Regions from separate parts of the Homo sapiens genome. Here all the other regions are linked to region 1. The links are contacts of gene promoters, found by promoter capture Hi-C in human tissues and cell types (Jung and others, 2019). All regions are on one chromosome and are shown on one strand. Each heading gives the region's core, a stretch centred on a gene start or on the middle of the fragment in contact. The rest is flanking DNA. Distances are from core to core; before and after follow the strand shown.

What was found. Contacts are between HindIII fragments. The study calls those that stand out against the background at their distance.
Region 2: a contact is called between a fragment that was not itself captured here and the fragment with the promoter of TNKS in region 1, in 1 of the 25 tissues and cell types used here (hippocampus).
Region 3: a fragment that was not itself captured here is called in contact with the fragment with the promoter of TNKS in region 1 in 1 of the 25 tissues and cell types used here (IMR-90 fibroblasts).

The regions. Positions count from the first base shown.
Region 1 is chr8:9,554,542-9,557,757 of GRCh38, forward strand. It overlaps TNKS (tankyrase), which reads left to right and starts at 1,371. Exons shown (of 27, transcript NM_003747.3): 1 at 1,371-2,071. The coding sequence starts at 1,399. RefSeq lists enhancers at 1,054-1,715, 1,716-2,375 and a silencer at 1,474-1,633. The HindIII fragment of the contact is 13,693 bases long and covers 1-3,216 here.
Region 2 is chr8:9,683,306-9,686,453 of GRCh38, forward strand. The region is part of intron 5 of TNKS (tankyrase); the gene reads left to right. Among named protein-coding and RNA genes, the nearest start is that of MIR597, 57 kb to the right of the region's middle. The HindIII fragment of the contact is 5,513 bases long and covers 1-3,148 here.
Region 3 is chr8:9,398,020-9,401,212 of GRCh38, forward strand. The region is part of intron 1 of LOC105379231 (a long non-coding RNA gene); the gene reads left to right. Among named protein-coding and RNA genes, the nearest start is that of TNKS, 160 kb to the right of the region's middle. The HindIII fragment of the contact is 4,654 bases long and covers 1-3,193 here.

The sequences.
Region 1 (3,216 bases), core at 121-2,620:
TTTACTATTGAACAGTAGGTATGAAATGGAGTCCTCAATGGGATTATCTCATTCATGGATACATCTTTTGATAGTAGAAAAACAAAAGTATACATAGGTTGGGGGAAAGACAGAAAAAGCAGTTGCTGAAAAATAGCACCTGATGGTGAGTAATGGACAGCAATCAGGTTTTTGTTATGTTTTCTTGTTGTTTTTGTGACAGGGTCTCCGCCCTCTGTCACCCAGGCTGGAGTGCAGTGGTGTGACCTCGGCTCACAGCAACCTCTGCCTCCCGGGCTCAAGTGATCCTCCCAACAGACTCCTGAGTAGCTGGGACTACACGCATGTGCCACTTTGCCCAGCTAATCTGTGTATTTTTTGTAGAGATGGAGCTTCGCCGTGATGGCCAGGCTGATCTTGAACTCCCGGGCTCAAGTGGCCCGCCGGCCTCGGCCTCCCAAAGTGCTAGGATTACAGGCATGAGCCACCGTGACCAGCCTAGCAATCAGGTTTTTATCTGTTTCGGGTGTGGGAGAGGCTAAGCTAAGCCAGAATTCAAAAGAAAGGAATATATTCATAATTAGTTACACTTAGGGTGAAAAATAAAATTTCAGAGAGAGCAGAATAGGAAAAAAAAATCATAATTTTAATAATTCACACTTATTGCACTATTGTTATTTCAATTTTACAGAGAAAAACAGGCATAGAGTGATGAAATAGCAAGTACATATATAAACAACAAATGGCAGAGCTGGAACGCCAATCCTAGCAATCTGAACCAGCATTTAAAAACGAGGAATTAAAGCACATAGGGTGAGAAAAATTATAGGGAAGGGACAAGAGCTCAAGGGGACACCTGGAAAAGAAATACTATAATTTAAAAAATTACCAACGGGCTAATTATACTTGTGTTTTACTGGCAGAGCGCTTTGTCTGTTAGCTCTTTTAATCCCGCTAATAATTCTGTGAGGTTGGTACTATAAGTTCCATTTTTCAGACAAGGACGCTTAATAGATGATAACGGACACATTCCCTGCTTGCTCTGATCTGCATCTCAACAGCTGGCTCTGGAGCAAGCAAAGGGAGACTAAGGGAAACAGAGCGGAGCAGGGCAAAGAAAGCCGACTGAAAGTGAGAAATGCAGGAAATGTTTCCCATCTAGGCAGAAGCTGGTTCCAGCATTCAAATCTCTCCAGCCGGCCCGCCACCACGTCACAAAGCCCGCCTCTCAGTGACAAAGCCCCGCCCCGTTCCCTTGGCTGTTCTCTGAGCTCCCAATACTTCCCTCCTTCTCTTTGGCCCCTGCTACCCCGCCTAGCATCATTTCCTGTGCGCTGGATGCTGATTGGTCCGACAGTCGGAAGTGAGGGCGGGCGGTGGGGGCCGTTGCCGCAGTGACAGTGCTAGGGGAGTCCGAAGATGGCGGCGTCGCGTCGCTCTCAGCATCATCACCACCATCATCAACAACAGCTCCAGCCCGCCCCAGGGGCTTCAGCGCCGCCGCCGCCACCTCCTCCCCCACTCAGCCCTGGCCTGGCCCCGGGGACCACCCCAGCCTCTCCCACGGCCAGCGGCCTGGCCCCCTTCGCCTCCCCGCGGCACGGCCTAGCGCTGCCGGAGGGGGATGGCAGTCGGGATCCGCCCGACAGGCCCCGATCCCCGGACCCGGTTGACGGTACCAGCTGTTGCAGTACCACCAGCACAATCTGTACCGTCGCCGCCGCTCCCGTGGTCCCAGCGGTTTCTACTTCATCTGCCGCTGGGGTCGCTCCCAACCCAGCCGGCAGTGGCAGTAACAATTCACCGTCGTCCTCTTCTTCCCCGACTTCTTCCTCATCTTCCTCTCCATCCTCCCCTGGATCGAGCTTGGCGGAGAGCCCCGAGGCGGCCGGAGTTAGCAGCACAGCACCACTGGGGCCTGGGGCAGCAGGACCTGGGACAGGGGTCCCAGCAGTGAGCGGGGCCCTACGGGAACTGCTGGAGGCCTGTCGCAATGGGGACGTGTCCCGGGTAAAGAGGCTGGTGGACGCGGCAAACGTAAATGCAAAGGACATGGCCGGCCGGAAGTCTTCTCCCCTGCACTTCGCTGCAGGTCAGAGACTTTTGAATTGTTTATTAAGGGTTATGGGTTTGGGTGCAGGGTCCGGTTAGGACAAGAAAACAGGTTATTGTGATGGGACAAAGTGGGGGCGTGGTTATGGTTCTTCATCACCTCACCAGAAGACTGGAGGTTCCTTTCTTTTGGTGGTGCCTGGGTGATGGGGGCGTGGTTGGGGGGGATAAGTGAATCCAAGGAATTCTTCAGTGGTTGCACAGTACTCATTACAAAACTCACTGTAGTTGGTAGTCTCTGCATATGGATATATTTACACTTTAGTTTTTGGTGTGCAGGAATACAGTTAGATTTGGACAGCTTTAGAGTAGTTTTGTCGTTTGTGTGCTAGTTTATTTTGTTTTTACAAGGGTATGTCCTTTGAGGACAGTCCAGACCAAAAGAGGTTTAATACAACCCAACACATGTTTGAGGATCTATTGTAGCCTTAATAACCCAATGAAAGACATAAATGAAGTGTTTGAAAGTTTCCCTTCTTCTAAAGAAGTTTGCAGTCTAGACGGGGAGACCAAAATATGCCAATGTGAAACAACTGGAGAAGAATATTTGGATGCATTATATGATGATGGAAGAAATATAGGCTTTGATGTTGTGGCCACTATTATTTGTTGTCTAGCAGACCATTTACCTCGTGTCAGTTGCCTCAGTTTTCTCATGGGCAAAAATCATAAAATGATGTTGTGCGAGCATTTGGTGAGAAGTATCTGGCACAAAGTTCTCCCTCAAAAAGTGTGAATTTCTTAAGCTCTGGACCCCACACTTGTCTTTTTTTTTTTTTTTGCAAGTAGTTGATGATTTTCTCTCAAAGACACCTAATAATATGTTTATAAAATAAAGAGAACTGTAAAATAAAAACAAAGGACCATAATCTCACTGCCTGGATACCTATTGTTGATATTTTAAAAATGTAGGTAATAATGTTTTATACATTAGAAACATTATATTGGAAATACATATATTGTACGTTATACAATTCAAATAGGACAGAAAAATACAAAATGAAAGGCATCACACAGAAACATCAGAGATAACACACCAGAGATAACTTCTGTTAAGTTTCTCCTATATTTCTAATATATATATATATCACTTCTTCAGTTTGTTCTGTTAACAGTAAAACATGT
Region 2 (3,148 bases), core at 433-2,932, 130 kb after region 1:
CTGTCCTAGTAGATATGTAGTCCTTTTTTAGAACATTTCTATGTGTTTATTTAGAATTAGAAAGTCAGATTGTGTATTAATGAGATGATAAAGGTACTTTTTCATATGTAGTAAATCAGGCATATAAAGTTTATTTCCTGAATTTCATTTTAGAACACAGCGTAGAAGCGAATCCTTTTTTGGAAGTTTCCTAAATTACTGTATTATTGCTTAACTGAGCCCTTTTCTTAGTTTTTACTACAGTTCCTGGTTTGTAAATTTAAAAAGCCCATGAAAATGTTAATTTTGAAATGTTTTTGGAAAAGAAATGTCTCTTATACAGTGGTTAGTAGGTGGGGAATTTGCCTAGAGATATGTGGGGGTTTGAGACTTTAGGTTTTTTTTTAATGTAATATGTGGGATTATACAATGAGAGTGTAAATTTTAAGTACTCTTAATTCTATACTGTGACTTGATGATTATCTAATTAGGTAATATGTGAGAAGTTAATATTTTGTTTCCCAAAGACAATTGTTTTCCTAACCTTTAGAATTCTGAAAATTATAAAACATCAATAAGGTTTTATACAGTTTATATTGTTACTATGCTTTTATTTTACACATAAATCAAAATTGGCTCCTGGCTACACTAGAAATTTTATTGGCTTTTTTTTTCCCTAAAAGCAGAATTTTTTTTTGTTCTAAAATGCTACCTTTTGTTGTTGCTCTAAAATGATACTTTTATGCAATTATATACGTGTTATAATGATGACCACTTTTAGAAACATAGGGACATAGATGTTATTTAGTCATCTTCTACCTTCTGCCCAGTATGATTAGTCATAACAGTCCACAATTCATTATTGCCATTAGGTGAACCAGAACCTGAAAATAGGTTGTTGCCTTTCTAGAATTCTTTATTCCTTTATTTTCAAACTTGGATTTTTTGATCTTTAATCTCCCTTTACAGTGTTTTATATCAGTATCAGATGTTTTATTAGCTATTATCCACATGTTCTGGCCTTGTTTGATATCTAAATTTAAGGTGGTAATATTCTCTTGTTTTCCAGTGTTAATTTTCGTAAGGATACCTTTTATAATAAATGAAAATAAATATTTGAATAAAATTAGTCCAACAGTCAACTCTTTTGAGAGTTCTTTGTGGTTCCTCTCTGTGTTATTCTCCTTTTCTAGGTGTCTTTATCCCCTTCCAAAATAAATGTCCAAAATTATCCATTCCTCATCTTAATAGGCAATAGGTAGGGGTTAGGGACTATTGCACATATTTCCAAATAGAAATAATATGTATCTTTGAATATATCTACTCTGCCTACTGTTGCTACTAGTATATGTCACCAATTAAAAGTAACTAATATTTGATAGGTGCTTTTAAAATAACATCTCCAATGTAATTTTGAGTATTTCAGGTTTCCCTCTGCTCCTTTCATTCATTCATTCCACCAACACTTAATACCTACCATGTGTGGGTCACTGTGCTTAGTGTCATGGGAGATAACTATATGGTTGATGGTACTGGTTAACGGGGAGCTCAAACATTGGTAGAATGATTAAGACATTATGGAAGACATTGAAGCTAATGCATTAAAATGATACAGTATTCCTTTTGCGGTGATACAGTTATAAAGTGCTGATTTAAGGTGACAGTGTTTTTTCCTGGCCCTTTTAGTTTTAACGCTTTAGTATTTAGTATACCCTTCTGTAAGAAACCACAAATTTAGATGAGCAGGTAATTGGAGGAACATGATTTTAATTCAGAAAACTTAAGGATTTCTTTAAGTGTCAACTTTCTGTAAATATTTGCTTCCAAATAGTTAATAATGAAGATGACTGGAAACAGAGAAAAGTAAAGTGTTTGAAAACTACTTTCAAAAGGAAATCAATCAGAAATAAAGTAGAATTTAGTGAATTTAGTGCTGTACCTTGAAGACACCATAGAAAAACTGTGATAGGGCAAATAGACTGTAAGGTCAGAGGGATTGGGTTCTATTCTGCTTTCCAAGTGTGTGTCTATGGCTCTAGAGTTTTTAATTTACTCACTCTCAAATGGAAATAACCATACCCTTTCCACAAGGCATTTGAGAGGATTAAGTGAAATAATGTGGTCAGTATACCTAGTACAGTTTGTAGCACACAGTAACCTTTAGAAAATTAGATTCCTACTCCTTTGATAATTTTTTCTGAAACTTTCAAATGTATCTAGAATGGACACTTACATACTTTTAAGTACTCCAGTGTTCCCCTTCTCTCCACTTAAATGTCCTTATTGTCCAAGCTCTGTCCCAGCTGCCTTTGGATAAAATAACCTATAGATTGTCTTGTAATCTATAAAGCATATAATTTAATTAATTCAGTTGGAGCTTGGCCTTCCCCTCTCTTCACCCAGTGTCACATTTAATAAATAAATTTGTCTAAATTAGCAGCTTATAAATTCAGAAATACATTCTTGAGATATATGCCCATTTTTAAACACGTGTTGATTAAAAATTAATATCTGGCTGAAAATAATGCCATATATGGAATTCCATAAACCCCATCCAGTGAAGAACAAGAAAGATGGAGGATTAGTGTAATTCTTTGTATCTACATTTAAGTTTTAGGGTTGTAGAGTTTCTCATTATTCTTGATCAGTACCCCCGTCTCTCAGTATAACTTTTTTCCAAATACTGTGTTTGGCCAGGATTTTAACAGTCTTTATGTGGTAGGTTGTTATTTGGAGATGCCTCAATAAACCGTCCCTTTTATTACTCATGCCCTTGTCTAGCCCCCTGCCACACTGACTCTGGGCTTAGCCTGGGACTGCTTTGAATAAAATAAGGCGCAAGTGATACTCTGTCCTATTCAGGACACGCCCCTGAGTTGGCCTGGCAGCTGCTAGTTTCTTTTTTTGTAATTCTTCTTGGAACCCAGCTGCCATGTCATAAGGCAGCCCAAGCAGCCATGTGACGAGGTCCACATGAAGAACTGAGGCCCCTAGCCAACAGACCCACCTGAGTTCGTATGGAAGCTTCTTAATGATTCTAACTATTCACACGTCCCAGACAATTTAACCCCATCTGAGTTCCCGATCCATCTTTAGGGTGACATCAGCCATCCTAGCACCGTAGCTCATACCACATAGAGCTGAAGACCTGCCCAGGTAATTCACTGCT
Region 3 (3,193 bases), core at 374-2,873, 160 kb before region 1:
GGACACAGAATTCATCACAGGTGAATGAAGACTCTCTTCATTCCTCAAATGGAGAGATTTTATGAAGAACTATTTACAGATGTGTGAGCAGGATTATGGAAACACATCAGAGATTAAAGATATGCAGAGATTAGCAACGTTGGAAGTTATTAGCACCCCAAAATTCGAAAGACAAGGAACAAATAGAGTTACCAGAGCTGGGTGAGAGCTGGAAGGCAAAGGCGAGGCCACCTGGCAGATGCTGAAGTCATGAAAAGAGGTTTCCATTTGTCCTCTCCCTCCAACCTCTGATGCCCTGCCACTGTCTCCTGGGATCAAATCGACCTGGCAGTCAGCCAGCAAGAGGTTGTAGAGTTGCAGGCTACAGGGATCAGTGTCCCATGGCATAGAACAGAGTGGAGATGGGCAGAGAATGGATTGGGGAAGGGAGTGGGGCAGAGAGAGAATAACCTGCACATCAGTGGAACCTCTGGCACACCCATGAAATTGCAACATCCGAACTTAGTCTTAGGTACTTCTAGAATCTTTCCTCCATGATCAGCAAAGGGAAGACTAAATCTGCATCTCTCTCCTGGCCCATGTGCACACATGTGTATGAGTACATGTGAGCAGGGCACACTGGTTAAAGATTCTGAAATCAGACTGATCTTGGATCTTAGCCCTGTGACTCACTAGTTCTATGATCTTGGATAAGTTACTTAATTTCACTAAGCTTTATTTTGCTCATCTATAAAATGAGGATAATAATAATACTCAGCTTAAATGGGTTTTATGCCAATTAAATGAAATAGTCCCTGTAAAGTGCTCAACACAGTGCATGACACGGAGTAAAGACACCGAGCAGCCCTCAGTAGAGGCTGATCCTTTCTGAGTCCCTCTTCCACAGAGGATCACCCATCTTCCCAAAGCCAACAATTTTTAGGACCAATCTACTCTAAATTCAAATTAGAGGCAAGACAGACGATCATTTTTCAAGTCTGCAAAGACTCAGTCCTGCTAAGAATGCACTGAACCCATATCTTACATGAAACATCTGCATTGCAGCCAATAGGGTGACATCAGGGCCCCCTCAAACAGGGGGCAGTGATTGCTTCACATCTATCTGACCAAGGGCCCGTTGGTGATTTTCCCCAAATGAAGAAAGTGGTCCATAAATAATAGAAAATTACTAGCAATGTGAAAATCATACTTTTCCATCACCCATGATAAGAGAAATACAAATCAATAGCCCTGGCACGGTGGCTCACGCCTGTAATCCCAGCACTTTGGGAGACCGAAGTGGGCAGATCACCTGAGGTCAGCAGTTTGAGACCAGGCTGGCCAACGTGGTGAAACCCCATCTCTACTAAAAATACAAAAAAAATTAGCCAGGCATAGCTGTGCGCGCCTGTAATCCCAGCTACCTGGGAGGCTGAGGCAGGAGAATCACTTGAACGCAGGAGATGGAGGTTGCAGTGAGCCGAGATCGGGCCGTAGCACTCCAGCCTAGGTGACAGAGCAAGTAGACTCCATCTAAAAAAAAAAAAAAAAAGAAAAAGAGAAAAATACAAATCAAAACTACAGTAAGATACAACCTACTCCTTACCATTAAGATGATTACTCTTAAAAAACAAACCAAACAAAACAAAAAAAAACAGAAAATGAGTGTTGGCAAGGATGTGGAGGAATTGGAACCTTTGTGCACTGTTGGTGGGAATGTAAAATGGTTATAGCCACTGTGGAAAATAGTATGGAGGTTCTTTAAAAAATTAAAAATAGAATCACCATATGATGCAGCAATTCTACTTAGGACTATGCACTCCGAAAGAATTGAAAAGAGGGTCTCAAAGAGATAGTTGTATACGTATGTTTATGGCAGCATTATTTACAATAACTAAGATATGGAAGCAACCCAAGTGTCTATTGACAGAGGAATGAATAAGCAAAATGTGGTCTATACATGCAATGGAATATTATTCAGCCTTAAAAGGGAAAGAAATTCCAACATGTTCTACAACATGGATGAACTATGAGGACATTATGCTAAGTGCAATAAGCCAGACACAAAAGGATAAAATATTGTATGATTCTACCTAAATGAGGTGATTAGAGTAATCAAAATCATACAGACAGGCAGTGTAACGGTTGTTGTCAGAATGAAGGGAGGGGGAATGAGGAGTTACTATTTAATGGGTGTTGAGTTTCTGTTTTACCAGGTAAAGAGTTATGTAGATGAATGGAGGTGATGGTTGAACAACATTATGAGTGTATTTAATACTATTAAACTATATACTTAAAAATGGTTAAGATGAATTAGTTGGGCACGAGGCGGGTGCCTGTAATCCCACCTACTCGAGGGGCTCAGGCAGGGGAATTGCTTGAACCTGGGAGGCAGAGGTTGCAGTGAGCCGAGATCGTGCCACTGCACTCCAGCCTGGCAAAAGAGCAAGCCTCTGTCTCAAATAAAATAAAATAAAAAATAAAAAAATAAAATGGTTAAGATGGCAAATTTTGTTGTGTGTATTTTACCACAAAAAATTTAATAATATTTAAATATGGTCTCACTCTATTGCCTAGGTTGGAGTGCAGTGCTGCAGTCACAACTCACCGCAGCCTTGACCTGCTGGGCTCAACTGATCCTCCCACCTCAGCCGCCTAAGTATTATTGATAGGTTGAATAAAAGATACCAGTTTTACACAGACATACTTGCTATTTTTAACACAGTTGCAGATTTAGGCCCTACAAACAGAGGAATTCTGATCAGTTCTATTTCATGTAATTCCCATGAGGTACCACCACACCTGGTGAATTTTTTCTTTGTAGAGACAGGGTCTTGCTCTGTCACCCATTCTGGTCTGGTCTTGAACTCCTGGGCTCAAGTAATCCTCCCGCCTCAGCCTCCCATAGTGCTGGAACTACAGGTGTGAACCACTATGCCTAGCCCATAATTTTTTTAAAAAAGGTACTTTTCCAACTTCAAAAAACAAAACAGAACAAAATGTCAGTGTGTTCAGGCTGCCGTATCAGGCTAGCTGACTTAAACAACAGAAATTTATTTTCTCACAGTTCTGAGGACTAGAAGTTCCAGATCAAGGTCTGGCTGGGTCACGTTCTGGTGAGGGCTCTCTTCCTGGCTTGCAGAAGGCCACCTTCTTGTTGTGTGCTCACAGGGCTTTGTCCTGGTGTGTGCATGTTGAGAAAGCAAACTCTCTC